Regions from separate parts of the Homo sapiens genome. Here regions 2, 3 and 4 are each linked to region 1. The links are contacts of gene promoters, found by promoter capture Hi-C in human tissues and cell types (Jung and others, 2019). All regions are on one chromosome and are shown on one strand. Each heading gives the region's core, a stretch centred on a gene start or on the middle of the fragment in contact. The rest is flanking DNA. Distances are from core to core; before and after follow the strand shown. Region 1 holds the start of SH2B2 (SH2B adaptor protein 2). Region 2 has its middle 4.8 kb from the start of IFT22. Region 3 overlaps LINC01007 (long intergenic non-protein coding RNA 1007). Region 4 has its middle 4.2 kb from the start of MYL10.

What was found. Contacts are between HindIII fragments. The study calls those that stand out against the background at their distance.
Region 2: a contact is called between a fragment that was not itself captured here and the fragment with the promoter of SH2B2 in region 1, in 1 of the 25 tissues and cell types used here (dorsolateral prefrontal cortex).
Region 3: a fragment that was not itself captured here is called in contact with the fragment with the promoter of SH2B2 in region 1 in 2 of the 25 tissues and cell types used here (lymphoblastoid cells and spleen).
Region 4: a fragment that was not itself captured here is called in contact with the fragment with the promoter of SH2B2 in region 1 in 3 of the 25 tissues and cell types used here (lymphoblastoid cells, mesendoderm cells and spleen).

The regions. Positions count from the first base shown.
Region 1 is chr7:102,284,764-102,288,417 of GRCh38, forward strand. SH2B2 (SH2B adaptor protein 2) reads left to right here and starts at 2,105. Exons shown (of 9, transcript NM_001359228.2): 1 at 2,105-2,331. RefSeq lists silencers at 1,423-2,002, 2,073-2,612. The HindIII fragment of the contact is 12,688 bases long and covers 1-2,757 here.
Region 2 is chr7:101,324,786-101,328,439 of GRCh38, forward strand. No RefSeq gene overlaps it. Among named protein-coding and RNA genes, the nearest start is that of IFT22, 4.8 kb to the left of the region's middle. The HindIII fragment of the contact is 3,914 bases long and covers 74-3,654 here.
Region 3 is chr7:101,565,146-101,568,799 of GRCh38, forward strand. It overlaps LINC01007 (long intergenic non-protein coding RNA 1007), which reads right to left. Exons shown (of 3, transcript NR_103749.1): 2 at 1,341-1,488. Among named protein-coding and RNA genes, the nearest start is that of LINC01007, 2.0 kb to the right of the region's middle. RefSeq lists an enhancer at 1-439. The HindIII fragment of the contact is 8,608 bases long and covers 1-3,654 here.
Region 4 is chr7:101,631,678-101,635,331 of GRCh38, forward strand. No RefSeq gene overlaps it. Among named protein-coding and RNA genes, the nearest start is that of MYL10, 4.2 kb to the left of the region's middle. The HindIII fragment of the contact is 5,470 bases long and covers 1-3,654 here.

The sequences.
Region 1 (3,654 bases), core at 855-3,354:
TAACTCATTGTCCAGCTGTCACAAGACTGGCTGCAAACCCAGGTCCCCCACTGCAGCCCACCAGGCCAGGGTCCCCTGTGCTACCTCTGTCTCCATTTTAGTTCTGAACAGTCTAAAGCATGTGTATCCAGGGGCCTTTCTTTGGGGTCCCCGTCCCAGCACCCCTCATCTCCCCCATGAGGACTTCTTCCAAGCCCCTCAAGCCTCCTGCCCTCAGGGACCCAGGATGGACCTTTCCTCCCTGACCTTCATTCCTATCCCCAGCGAGGCGACAGCTGCTCTTGGCCAACCACGCCCCCTCCACCCCCACAGCCACTTCCACATCTCCATCAGTTCCTCCTTGTGGGTCCGAGGCGCTCTGCCGCCGGCCCCTCCTCACTTCTTCCTCCCTGGGGATGGATCCAAGCTATTGTCCTGCCCATGGCTTCCCATCTCAGGACCCTCTCTGGCCGCTATCATCCCAGCAGTGGAGTTCAGCCCACTACTCTGAACCAGGTTAGTCCACCGCGGGTCAGGCTCTCCCCTCTCCCAGGAGGGTGGAGACCACAACCAGGCCATGTATGGAGCTTCCCTTTCTCCCACTCTCGGGCACCCCCTCCTCCCCCTTCCCGGCCTCATTCATAGGTGTCCTGGTTCCCAACCAGGCGTGCAGGCCTGTGTGCAGCTCCGATCGAGGGCTGGCCCACTGCCGAAGCTTTCATTAAAGTGTCTGCTGGCCTGGTCCTGCGGAGGGAACAGAGCCGAGATGTGGGGCAGGGAAGGGGTCTGCCTGTCTTCCGTGCCCCCGTGGAGGGCAGCACCGGGGTTTTGGGCAGCAGGTGAAGGCTCTGTCCCCTCCACCTTCAACTCTGGAAGCCCCACCTTTCCATCCCTAAGAAGGGTTTGATAAAAACCCTTGTCTGTAAATTAGAGATGGGAAATGGCTCTGGGAAAAGTCAGAGGTCAGTTTGGGCCCGGGAGGGCGACAGATGGAGGCAGCTCCGGCTGGCAAGGAGACCAGGACAGAACTGCCAGAGGTGGGGGCAGGGGACAAGGAGGGAGATGAGGGGAGAAGACACCCAGGGGTCCCCCCCTGCTATCTCCAGGAGCAAGACTACTCTCTTCTCTGAGCGGCCCTTTCCACACCTCTGCCCCCACCGAAGCCCTCCCTCCCCTCTCAGACCCCTTCCAGGCCTGCTGAGCCCCCTGCACCTCTTTCAGGAAGCCTCCCAGAGCCCCCGCGCTGTGCCCTCAGCACCAGGGGTCAGGCTACAAATGCCCCGCAAAGCCCAGCGGGACTGTTTCCTCAGCCCCACTGGTCTCTGCCCTAAAGCAGGCGAGTTCTGGAGCCAGGCAGGGGTGAGGAAGGTGCCAGGGTTGTGGCCCCTCATCGCCCCTCTATGATCTCTGACACCTCTCCGGGTGGCATCAGGCCCCCATCACAGCGAAGGCTGGGTGGTGGGGGCACTGCGCTCAGGGGGGCCGTCCCGCCCTGTGGCCCGGGGGCGATTTCCCGCACCGGAGGGCTGCAGGGAGGGGGCGTGGTGGCGCCCTCGAGATTTATGAGAACCAGGCGTCGACTTCCTCCGTTGCGACATCCAGGCCTCCTCCAGGCTCCCATTGTCCCTGCTGCGGAGAGTCTGGCCACAGCGGCGGCTCCCGCGAAGCACCCGTCAGCGAGGGGCGCTTCGAGGGCGTCCGCGTCCCATACACCCGCCACGCAGGACATTCCCCCGGCCCCACGCTCCGCGCTCCCGGGGCCACCACCACCGCGGGCTCGAGGGGTGGCCTCCACGAGGAGGAGTGGGAGTCCCGCGCCTGGCCTGGGGCCGGCTCGGCGACATGGGGACCCCCGCCCAGATGGGGCGACTCGGAGCCGGCTCCTAACCCCTCTCTCCGGGCCCCAGGACCGGGCAGTCTCGGCACCGCAGCTGCGGGGAGCCAGCAAGCACCGGCCACCGGCGCCGCTCGGGCTCCGCGGATGGCCGGGGGCGGGGCCTGAGCGGCGCAAGTGGGGGCGGGAGGGGGCGGGGCCAGGACGCGCGAGGGGGGGCGGGGCCGGGGCTCGCGGCGGGGGCGGGGGCGGGGCGGGGCCGGGAGGCGCGCGCCTCGCGGGCGGAGGGGCGCGCCGCGCTGGGGCTGGGCTTGGAGCGCGCGGAGCTCGGCTGCCAGAGAGCCGCGCGGGGGACGCGCCGGGACCGCGAGGAGCGCAGGAGCCTTCGAGGCGGTGAACGAGGGAGGGAGCCCAGTCCGCCGCGGGCCATGAGCCACCGGGCCCGGGGAGCCCGGCCGCGGTCCGGGCAGCGCTCAGCCGGCGCCCCAGCCCGCTCGGCCGCAGCTGCGCGCCTGTAGGTATGGCCTCCTTATACCCAGTTCCTCGCTCCCTGGTCCTTCCCCCGGGACCCCTGTCTGTCCCCGGGGACGTGCGCTGTGTGCGCACCGCTGCCCGAAGGAGAGCGGCCGCACGCGCCTTGGTCCGCGCGTGTCGTCTTTGTGTGCGCGGGTGGGAGGGAGGAGGGCGCGCGAGGGAGGGGAGGCGCCCCCGGCTGGGATCTGCTCCCCGATCCCCATCCCGGGCGGGGCGGGGAGCCGCTGGAGGGGCCGAGCCGCCTCTGGAGCAGCTGCGCCCCCGCCCCCTGCTAGGGCCCCGGCCGGGTAGTGGGGCGAGAGCAGCCGGGTCCTTAGAGGAGGGGTCTCTGGTTGGGGGAAGGGGTGCCCAGGTCTCTTCCCTACGCTGGGAGCGCTGGGAGGGGGCGTCAACCTAGAATGAGGGTGAGGGCCACGGGATGGGATCGGGGAGGACCTCCTCCAGGCCACAGGCACGCCCTCCCTTTGGCCCAGGCCCCCCTTTCTCGACCTGCCCAGCCGGGGAGCTCCCCGGAGCCCCCGATTGCCGGGAGGATCGTGGAGGGTGCCCAAGAGGCCGGCGCCTTTAAGAAGGGGCGGGTTCGTGCCCTCCATTCAGGCCCTTGGGCCTCGGCCATTGATGAACCTGCGGGCTGCGCGGGCCGGAACCGCGCCAGCCCAGCGGGCTGAAGCCGGGCAGAGGCAGGGACGCATCCTGGCCCCCTGCAGCCCCGAAGTGGGGGCCTTCAGGGAGGGAAGTCTGCAGTGACTGGAGCCTCTCAGGAGCCACGCAAGGCAGACCGGGCAGCCCCAGGCGAGACTCTGAACACGAATAAGCCAGGATCTACGTGCACTTCGAGCTAGTGCAAGGGAGAGCCTCAGGCTAGGCTGTCAGACCTGGGTGGAGCCCTACCAATGCCCCCGAGCCAACATCACCTACCCTGTAAAATGGGATGGTGCTGCCTGCCTCCTGGCTAAGGGACCGGCAACTCCCGGCAGGAATTGCGTCCCAGAGTCAGGTCCCTGGAGCTCCTCTGGGAGGACTGGGGGCAGGGGGTGTGGTTTCCCCAAGAGGTTTTGACTGCCTCTTGAGCTGAAGCCCCCACTACTGTGTCCCACCTTGAACTCTCCCAACCTCTTCCCTCCTGGCCTCCCCACTCCACGCAGGAAGAGGTTGGGAGAGTGACCTAGAACTTTTCAGCTCCAGGAGCTTTGGGAGAGGTCTGGTGGTGGCGGTGGTGGCACTTCTTTTAGGCTAGTGTGGATCAGGGCATTTTTGGGGGTCTCAGAGACAGTTTCCCACCAGCTACTTCCTTAGAGGTCTGTCCT
Region 2 (3,654 bases), core at 781-3,280, 960 kb before region 1:
CTGTATACATTTGGGATGATTATTGTAAATTATTGAAATACTTTTGCTTTATGACTTTCATTTTAATTAGAAGAGGTTGACTTCAGACAGCTTAATACCCAGGCTTTGATTGTAAAGTGAGCAATAGATCATTAGCGGGGGTGAGAACTGGGTGAACTCGGTCATTTTTCTCCTCCTTCTGTGATTCAATGCAATAAAATCTTTCTCTTGCAAAAAACCTAAAGAAATAAGTTTGACATATTTCAAATCCCTTCTATAAATTTTTGAAAAGATTTAATATAACCCCCAGCCATAAAGTCTTTGAGTTGACCCTCCACGGTCTCAATGATTACACATGCAGTTTTTATTACTAAAGAATAAATTGTGGGTTTCCCGTGACTCAAGGGAATCAAATGCCCTTCAATTACCTTCTCCTGCAGCGGGAGGATTTGAACCTTTTCCGTTCAACTCTTGAAGACAGGAATTTTACCAGATGGTTTGTAACCTGGAAATATTTTGTCCCCTATGAATGCTGTCATCTTTTTTTTTTTTTAATTTAAAAAAAGGAATAAAGCTGTAGCCAGAGATGATGTCCAGCAAGTTTGGTTTAGGACAAAATCAATGATGGACAAAATCAATTTAGGACAAAAAATGATCAACTTTTCATCAATTCTCATTAGAAAGCCTGAGCTATACTTTCAATATAAAAAATATTTCCCAGCCAACTGAAGATAAAGCTTTTGGCAAAGCAGTGAAACAGGGATATGGCTGGACCAGGAGCCTATAGCCTGCATTTGGCCGTGTCCTGTAGAAGGGATTTTGGGAGGTGGTGTTGTGCCATGGAAAGAGTACCGATTTTGGAGTAAGACAATTTGAAAGTAGGTGAGTGAGGCCAGGTGTGGTGGCTCACACCTGTAATTCTAGAACTTTGGGAGGCCAAGGCGGGCAGATCGCTCGAGGCCAGCAGTTCAAGACCAGCCTGGCAAACATGGTGAAACCCCGTCTCTACTAAAAATACAAAAGTTAGCCAGGTGTGGTGGCAGATGCCTGTGATCCCAGCTACTTGGGAGGCTGAGGCAGGACAATCGCTTGAACCCAGGAGGTGGAGGTTGCAGTGAGCCGAGATTGTACCATTGCACTCCAGCCTGGGCAACAAGAGCGAGACCCTGTCTCAAAACAAAACAAAACAAAACAAACAAACAAACAAACAAACAAAAACAACCACATACCTGAGACTGGGTAATTTATAAAGAAAAGAGGTTTAGACCTGGCACAGTGGCTCACGCCTATAATCCTAGCACTTTGGGAGGCTGAGGCTGGCGGGCAGATCACAAGGTCAGGAGTTCAAGACCAGCCTCGCCAACATGGTGAAACCCCGTCTCTACTAAAAATACAAAAATTAGCCGGGCGTGGTGGTGCACATCTGTAATCCCAGCTACTCGGGAGGCTGAGGCAGGAGAATCTCTTGAACCCAGGAGGCAACTGTTACAGTGAGCCAAGGTTGCACCACTGCACTCTCCAGCCTGGGCGACAAGAGCAAAACTTCCTCTCAAAAAAAAAAAAAAATTATAAAATTAGCCAAGCCTCAGTTTTTCTCTCACTAAAATGGGGATCCTAGAATTGCTTGAATCCAGGAGGCAGAGGTTGTAGTGAGCCAAGATCGTGTCACTGCACTCCAGCCTGGGCAATAGAGTGAGACTCTCACAAAAATAAAATAAAACAAAATAAACTAAACTGAGGATCCTAAAACTAATCCTATAGGGTTGTTACGAGGATTGAATGTGATGAGGCATGCAAGTTATTTAGTCTAATTCCCGGCACATGACAGATGGTTGATATCTGATAGCTGTGATCACTTATAGCACTCATAGGCCTTTAGAATATTTTTGTGATGCGTTTTTTTTTTTTTTTTTTTTTTTGAGATGGAGTTTCGCTCTTGTTGCCCAAGCTGGAATACAATGGCGCGATCTCTGCTCACTGCAACCGCTACCTCCTGGGTTCAAGTGATTCTCCTGCCTCAACCTCCTGAGTAGCTGGGATTACAGGCATGTGCCACCACTCCTGGCTAATTTTTTATTTTTAGTAGAGACAGGGTTTCTCCATGTTGGTCAGGCCGGTCTTAAACTCCCGACCCCAGGTGATCTGCCCGCCTTGGCCTCCCAAAGTGCTGGGATTACAGGCGTGAACCACCATGACCGGCCTCATGATGCTTTTGACTAATGTCTCCACACCCACAGAATTTTCCCATTGCATTTTTTTTTTTTTTGAGACAGGGTCTGTCTCTGCCACCCAGACTGGAGTGCAGTGGCATGATCTCAGTTCATTGCAACCTCCACCTCCCAGGTTCAAGCAGTCCTTGTGCCTCAGCCTCCCACAGGTACATGCCACCATGCCCAGCTAATTTATTTATTTATTTTTTCGAGATGGAGTCTCACTCTGTCCCCCAGGCTGGAGTGCAGTGCAGTGGTGCAATCTCGGCTCACTCTAAGCTCCACTTCCCGGGTTCACGCCATTCTCCTGCCTCAGCCTCCCGAGTAGCTGGGACTACAGGCACCTGCCACCACGCCTGGCTAATTTTTTTGTATTTTTAGTAGAGACGGGGTTTCACCGTGTTAGCCAGGATGGTCTCGATCTCCTGACCTCGTGATCCGCCCGCCTCAGCCTCTAATTTTTAAATTTTTTGTAGAGATGGGGTTTTGCCATGTTGCCCAGGATGGTCTCGAACTCCTGAACTCAAGCGATCCACCTGCCTTGGCCTCCCAAAGTGCTGGGATTACAGGCGTGAGCCATTGCGCCGGGCTGTCCCGCTACATTGATTATATCTTTTGAGCACTAAAACTTTATGGTTTTTTCTGCCTCCCTTCGTTGCCCTCCCAGGAGAAAGCACTTACATGTTTAACTTACTGCAGATAAATTAATGTCTCTAACATATGATGCACGCCTGCTGAAATTTCTTTTTTCTTTTAGGGACAGGGTGTCACTGTGTCACCCAGGCTGGAGTGCAGTGGCGAGACCATAGCTTACTGCATCCTCGAGCTCCTGGGTGCAAATGATCTTCTCATTTCAACTTCCCGAGTGGCTAGAACCACAGGGTGTGCACCACTATGCCTGGCCATTTTTTTAAAAAACATTTTTTTGTAGAGATGAGGTCTCCCTAAGTTGTCCAGGCTGGTCTCCAACTCTTGGCCTCAAGTGATCCTCTCATCTCGGCCTCCCAGCATGAGCCACCATGCCTGGCCTAAAATTTATTTTTATATAGCCATTTTGTGCTTGCTAATGTGAGCTGATTTCCTGCTTTTCCAACTTAGTTTGCTCAAAATTCTGTATATTTTATCTGCTTAAAGTGAAGGCTACAGTACATGAAACAGGCAGCTGCAAAGTCCAACTACACTCATGACCTAAAAAGTCTTGATATACCCTCCACACTGCATTTACGGTCAAGGGCAAATGAGATCCTATAGGCACACAAAATTATATCTGATAGTGCCCAGGAATGACTGACACACCTGTGGACTGCTTAGAGCACCTGCATTACTGGGCTTGCAACTTTATACATTCACAGAAAGACTTGCTTTTATTTATTTATTTATTTATTTATTTATTTATTTATTTACTTATTTATTTATTTGAGACAGACACTCTGTCGCCCAGGCTGGAGTGCAGTGATGAGATCTC
Region 3 (3,654 bases), core at 362-2,861, 720 kb before region 1:
GGCAGGGGCAGGTGGGAGCCAAGACTGGCCTACATCAGAACAGCAGCCCCCTCCCCACTCCAACCCTCCACGCCTGCAGTTTCCACCACCCCCGAGATTTCTGGAACACCTCTCTCCCAGACCGGCTTTATGGATTATATAAAAAAAGAATTTCATGAGGTTTTCAGTTAATTGAATTCCAGGGAGATTTATTCCCAATGTTATTAATAAATTCTAATGCCACCTATAACTTTCAATTGCCAGTTAATTAACTTGCAATGGGTGCATTGTAAAAGGCAAATTAAATACTTTTTCAGGCAGGGGCTGGCAAATTTAATGAGCTGATGTGTCCCAAGGGAGACGGCCGGGCTCACACATCCCATCAAATACTCCTCCCATCAGCAGATGAGAGTGTGATCTGGGTGAGTGACAACTGGACCTCCGCATCCTCATCTGTAAAAAGGGATCACAAAACCTGCCTCCAGGACCCTCAGATACCTGGAGTGGATGCTGTGTTTTATTCATACACAAATACAACGAAGGGGCCCTGGGGCGGTGAACTTTATGTGTCAACTTGACTGAGCCATGGGGTGCCCAGACAACTGGTCAAACACGCCTGCCCTGCCCAGCCCAGGTCAATTCATCTGGTCAGTCTACAGGGGATTGGGGGCAGGCCAGCCTCTGCCTCCTTCTGAGTAGAGAACAAGGATGGCAGTAAGGACGGCAGGGAAGACAAGGAGCAGGGGATCCCAGGGAGGACCACCGGGCTCACTGGAGGGAAGAGAGTCCTCCCCTAGGAAGGGACACAGCTGAGGAGTCTGAGAGATTTAGTAGGAGTTGTCTGGGTGAAGGAGAAGGCAGGGCAAGTTGGGGAGGCACGAGCACGTGCAAAGGCCCAGTGGTATGAGAAGGGGAAAAGCACTGGAAATTGTTGGAAATGCTCTAGGGTGGAGCCGGCAGGGGAAATATGATAATGTGGGCTTATTACAAGGCTACAGGGATCTCAGTGGACCCCAAGGACAGGAGCTGGAGTCAGAACAGGTCCCAAGAGAGTAGTACTGGATCTGAGTTAGTCCCAAGGCCTCAGTGTCAGCAGGAGATTACTGATTCCCATGGGCTCTGCCTGTTGCCTGTTTGTCCCTCTTCTTGTGGCAATGTGACATTTTGTCTTGGCCTCATAGCTTCAGCATGCTCATGACTTCTGCTTCTTCTGATGGCTTGCCATGACCTCTCACTGGCTATCCTTCAACAGCAGTCAGCTTTGCAGTGACACAATATTCAAACTGGGTGTCAAGCACCTTCATTGTCTCCCCAGTGACCCAGCACGCAGGCTCCCTAAAGGTAGAGTTCTCAGGCAGTACCTGGTGCTGTAACAAATATCCCATTGACCTGGGGGCGACATTTCTCACAGCTCTAAAGGATAGGAAGTCCAAGATCAAGGTGCCAGCAGATCCGGTTCCTGGTGAGGGCTCTCTTTCTGGTTTGCAGATGGCCGCCTTCTTGCTGTGTCTTCACATGGTGGGGAGAGAGAGAGGAAGCAAGCTCTGTTGTGTCTCTTCTTATAAGGACATTAATACCATTATGAGGGCCCCACCCTCATGAACTCATATAAACCTAATCACCTTTCGATGGCCCCACCTCCAAATGTCATCACAATGGGGATTCAGGCTTTAACATACAAATTTTAGGGGCACATAAACAAGTGGTCTACAGCAGTAGAATGCCTTGTCCTTGTAGGCAGACAAGGACAGACCTCGGTCTGGTCTCCCCTAGGCCTAGACACAGATACTTGATAAGGAGGGAGGATTCTAGGGAACCAAGGTCAGAAGCCTCATAGAGCAGGAAGTATGGGTTTTGTGGCCTGTTGATGGCAGAAGCTTCTATCTTAGGCTTAGAGTCTCCAGCTAGGCTCTTGCTGGGAAAACAGTGCAGTCTTTGCTTTCTTTTATATCAGAGCTGCATTTTCAAACGTAACCATCCCACACCCACTCTCCAGCTATTCGAGGACTTTGATGACAGCCCTCCAGTTTCTCAGGATGTAACAGCAGCAAATCACTGTGCACTTTCTCACTTGCTGCCCATGATCCCCCATGCTCCAACCACCGGGCAGGCCCATATTGGGCATGAAAGGATCTTGGCCTTAATTTTTCTTTTGCCTCGTGGCGATAAAGGGAGCATTTTGTTTTTTTCAAAAGACAAAACCAAAAGGTGCATCTTAATTAGGGAACAGGTGCAGTGAGACCAGACTGAACTCTGCCAGGCAGCAGCCTTTCACTTTGTGCGCACAATGCTTTTAATGCAGCCCCGTTGCCATGGCGATTACCATGTCTCAGCTTACTGAGGTGGCGTTGCAAACCTGTAGGGAAGAAATGGATTATTCAATAAATGATGCCGGGACATTTGGTTAGCTATTTGGAAGGAAATAAAATTAGCTCTTTCCTTCACACCATACATTAATATAAATTCCAGAGGACCTAAAGAATTAAATGTAAGAAAGGGAAATCATTAAAAAGCAAACAAATGTTTGATCTTGGGGGTACATGGAAACATTTTAAACCTAAAAGCAGTAGAAAAAATAACAAAGATTAAGGTAGAATTTAATACATAAAATTTAAATCTCCTTGTTTTAAAAATTATTTAGTTAATTTTATTGGGAGACTACAAAAAAGAATAAAATGGTTGCAAGAAATATGACAAAAGATTAATACCTCTAATATGTAAAAAGTAATTACAAATCAATAAAAATGAACAGTCCAATAGAAAAATAGTGAATGAGAAATGCCCAAAAGATGAAATAAAAATATGTAATAAAATATTTTTAAATATTCAGCTTCATTGGTCATCAAAGAAATGCCCATTAAAACATCAATGAGATTTTCTCCTATAGCTTATCAAAGAACGTTTAAATATAATTATAGCATTCAATCTCATTGAGTGGAGTAAAATTGAGTATTCCTATTCATCTCACATGTGAAAATACAAGTTGGTATAAAATTTCTAGGAAAAAAATTAAGTTTATGCCACAAGAGATTTTAAAATGTTCACACTATTCAGCTGGTAATTTCACTCCGAAGATATCCTAAGGTGCTGTCCAGGATTGAAGCCAAAAATGTAGATATGATAATATTCATTATAAGTATTTAATAGAAGTTTATAATTTACTAAAACACGTGGGCATGGTTAAATAAATTATGATACATAAATATGATGAACTATTGTGCAGCCATTAAAATAATATTTTGAATAATACTTAATGGCATGGAAATATGTCTATGACATAATATTAAGCGGAAAATAGTATACCATTTGGGTTTCTTAGCTGACAGCAATAGAAACCCACTCTGGCTGTCTGGATAAAGCAGAAAAGGAATTCATTGGAAGAAAATTGTAGGGCTTGGAATCAACAGGAACACAGGAGAACTAAACTGAGAAAGAAAGAAAAATAGAGAAAGAAATAGAGGAAGAGAGAGAAAGCAAGGAAATATAGAGAAAAGAAAGAGAGAAAGAAGAATGAAGGAAAGAACCAAGGAAGGAAGGAAAGGAGCAAAAAGGCAAAACAGGGCAAACATCCATCAACAGCTATAGTTACGGTACCAAAGTAGACATATGGTATGATCCCAAGTCAAGGCAAAATTGGCTATTCAGAAATACCAAATTCATCCCGGAATCTCAGTG
Region 4 (3,654 bases), core at 480-2,979, 650 kb before region 1:
CAGCCCTTGACCCCTTCCCTGGCCAGCCATCACCCTGACCTTGGCTGTTCTGCAAATTCTTCCCGAAATCTCCTTCCTCCAAGCCTTTGGCCACATTGTATGTTTCCCTACTCATCACAATCAGTCTCCAGCCTGCTTTAGAACACCTCTCGGACGGCCGTGGTGGCTCCCGCCTGTAATCTCAGAACTTTAGGAGGCCAAAGTGGGTGGATCACCTGAGTTCAGGAGGTCAAGACCAGCCTGGACAACACGGCAAAACGCTGTCTCTACTAAAAGTACAAAAATTAGCCAGGCGTGGTGGTGTGCGTCTGTAATCCCAGCTACTCGGGAGGCCGAGGCAGGAGAATCGCTTGAACCTGGGAGGTGGAAGTTGCAGTGAGCTGAGATAGCACCACTGCACTCTAGCCTGGGTAACAGAGTGAGACTGTGTCTCAAAAGAAAACACAAAAAACAAAAAACAACAAAAACAAAAGGAAGCCAACAGTGCTGCCTTCAGTCTGTGGCCGAAGGCCCAAGAGCTCCTGGCAAACCACTGGTTTAAGTTCAAGAGTTCAAAAGCTGAAGAACTTGGAGTCTGATGTTCGAGGGCAGGAAGCTTCCAGCACAGAAGATGAAGGCTGGAAGACTCAGTGAGTCTTCTTATTCCACTTTCTTCTTTCTGCTTTATTCTGGCCTCACTGGCTGATTAGACGCTGCCCACACAGATTAAGGGTGGGTCTGCTTCTCTCAGTCCACCGACTCAAATGTTAATTTCCTCTACCAACACCCTCACAGACATACCCAGAAACAATACTTTGCATCCTTCAATCCAATCAAGTTGATACTTAATATTAGCCATCACACCTACCTACTGAATTTGAGAGCCTAGGCCACTTTCTGACCTTCCCTGAGCAATCCCAGGCTGCCGTAAAAAATGCCTGCAAATTCTTTGACACTTTTTCCATGGAGAGGCGGGATCTATAACATCATTCCTTGCCAACAGGCAGGCTTTTGTGACTGCTTTGACCAAGAAAGTAGGGTAGAAGTGTCACTATGTGACTTCTGAGGTTAAGTCACAAAAAGCCATGGAGCTTCTACCTTATTTGCTGGGACTTTGTGCTGGAGCCCTGAGTCACTCTATGACGAGTCTGACTACCATGAGGCGGCCATGTTGTAGGGAAGACCAAGTCACACGAAGAGGCCCCGTGTCTGTACTCCAGTCAGCAGTCCCTGCCTTTGAGTCATCATCCGAGCCTCCCAGACAACAAACGTGTGAATGACCAGTCTTCAAGTGATTCTGGCACCAGCCATGGAGTCATCCCCATCCTTAGAGTCCCCCGAGCTGAGGCCCTAGACATTATGACAAGCCACCCTCACCATCCCTTTTCTGAATTTCTGATCCATAAGAACCCCTGAGCACACTGCTATGCTTTGGGGTTTTTTTTTGTTTTTTGTTTTTCTTTGAGATAGAGTCTCACTCTGTTGCCCAGGCTGGAGTATAGTGGTGTGATCTCAGCTCACTGCAACCTCCACCTCCTGGGTTTAAGTGATTCTTCTGCCTCAGCCTCCCGAGTAGCTGGGATTACAGGCACCCAACACCACGCCCAGCTAATTTTTGTATTTTTAGTAGAGACTGGTTTCACCATGTTGGCCAGGCTGGCCTTGAAGTCCTGACCACAAGTGATCTGTCCGCTTCGGCCTCCCAAACTGCTGGGATTACAGGCATGAGCCACCATGCGCTGTGCTTTGGGCTGATTCTTTACAAAATATCATAATAACCATCACAGTGAGATTTAAATGTGCTCTGTAGGGGGACAGGCTACACAGCCATAGTCTACTCCTCAGGGCTCTGGGGAAGATGAGAGCATGAATTTGAAATCAGATGAAAGTGACTTCAAGTCCTGCTGGACCACTTGCTCTGTGACCTCACCCACATCACTGAATTTCCCAGAATCCTCAGCTTCTCCACCTGTCACATGGAATCAGTTTTCACTTGGCAAGTTTGTTACATGCCTGGCGCTTGTAGACTGCGGCTACCAATCCTGTCTGGTTATTGGCAGAGGACATGCTGCCTGTGACAAGACACTGAGCCAAGAGATGCCTCTGTTGGGCTTCCAGAACGTGCTTCCTGTGCCAAGGCTCCAGTGTCCTTAGTGGAAGAGAGACGCCCTCACGGCCTGCCCTTTCTGGCCTGGCCAGGGCAGCATGACTCATTGGATGACCCCTCGCCCCATCCCAAATGTCACAGCCCTGCACCATGGCTTCCCTTAGACCCTGTGGCCCAAGGACACACAGTAGGCTGGGTCCACAGGAAACACCCAAAGCCACAGAATGCCATTTGCCCACTCCCCCATCTGTATCTCCTTTACCCATCTCTGTCACATATTGAGAAAATGGCTCCAGATTGGGGGTGCACACAGCCCCTGAGCTCCTGCAGCCATCAAGGCTCCTGACAGGCTGGAGCCGACCGAGAACTAGAGGCCGGCTCAGGCCAGAGCAGCCACACATAGCATTTCAGACAGACCCTGACTCAGGGCCAGTTCGCCTCTTTCTCCCTTAAGCCAGAGGAAATAGCCTCGTATGTCCATCAACTCTCTCATTGCCAGGTGGGATGCCTGAGATGTTGACAGTTAGAGACGGTGGGCTGTCTTTTCCGAAAGCCCCTGGTGTCCCCTCCTCCCCAGCTCCCGTCCCATCTGGAGCCTTCTTCCAACTGGAGATCACTTAGAAAAGACAAAGAAACCTTTAAACTAAGAATGCCTCCTGGAATGCCTCTTGCCTGTTTTATAGCTGCAGCTCAGCGGGCTGGTGAATGTGCTCTCTCGCCCACAGAAGCTCAAGAGAGGCATCCCATTCAAGGGGCCTGTGGTCACAGCATCCTGCTGTAAAAATAGCTGTGGATGGCCAGGCACGGTGGCTCACGCTTGTAATCCAAGCACTTTGGGAGGCAAGGTGGGAGGATCACTGAGGTCAGGAGTTCGAGACCAGCCTGGCTAACATTGTGAAACCCCATCTCTGCTTACAAAAAAAAAAAAAATTAGCCGGGTGTGGTGGCACACACCTGTAATCCCAGCTACTCAGGAGGCTGAGGCAGGAGAATCATTTGAACCCAGGAGGCGGAGGTTGCAGTGAGCCGAAATCACACCACTGCACTCCAGCCTGGGAGATGGAGGAAGACCCTGTCTCAAAAAAAAAAAAAAAAAAAAAAGAAAAGAAAAGAAAAAAAAAGCTGTAGAATCAATGGCTGACAGGAGGAGAAAGGGGTAGGGTTTTTCTGCCCAGTGGGACTGGAAGTCACCCTAAAAGTGAGTAGATGAGGTCTCTGAGCCAGGTCTGGGAACATGTGGCTGGATCTTGTTTGCTCTTTTTTTTTTTTCTTTTTTTTGAGACAGGGTCTCACTCTGTTGCCTAGGCTGGAGTGAAGTGGCACAATCAGGGCTCACTACAGCCTCCCAGCCTCAAGCAATCCTCCCACTTTAACCTCCCGAGTAGCTGGGACTACAGGTGCACACCACCATGCCTGGCTAATTTGTGTATCTTTTGTAGAGACGAGGTCTCGCTATGTTGCTCAGGCTAACCTCAAACTCCTGGGCTCAAACGATCCTCCCGCCTCAGCCTCCCAAAGTGCTGGGATTACAGGTGTGAGCCACCGCACCCAGCCGGCTTCCTGACTTT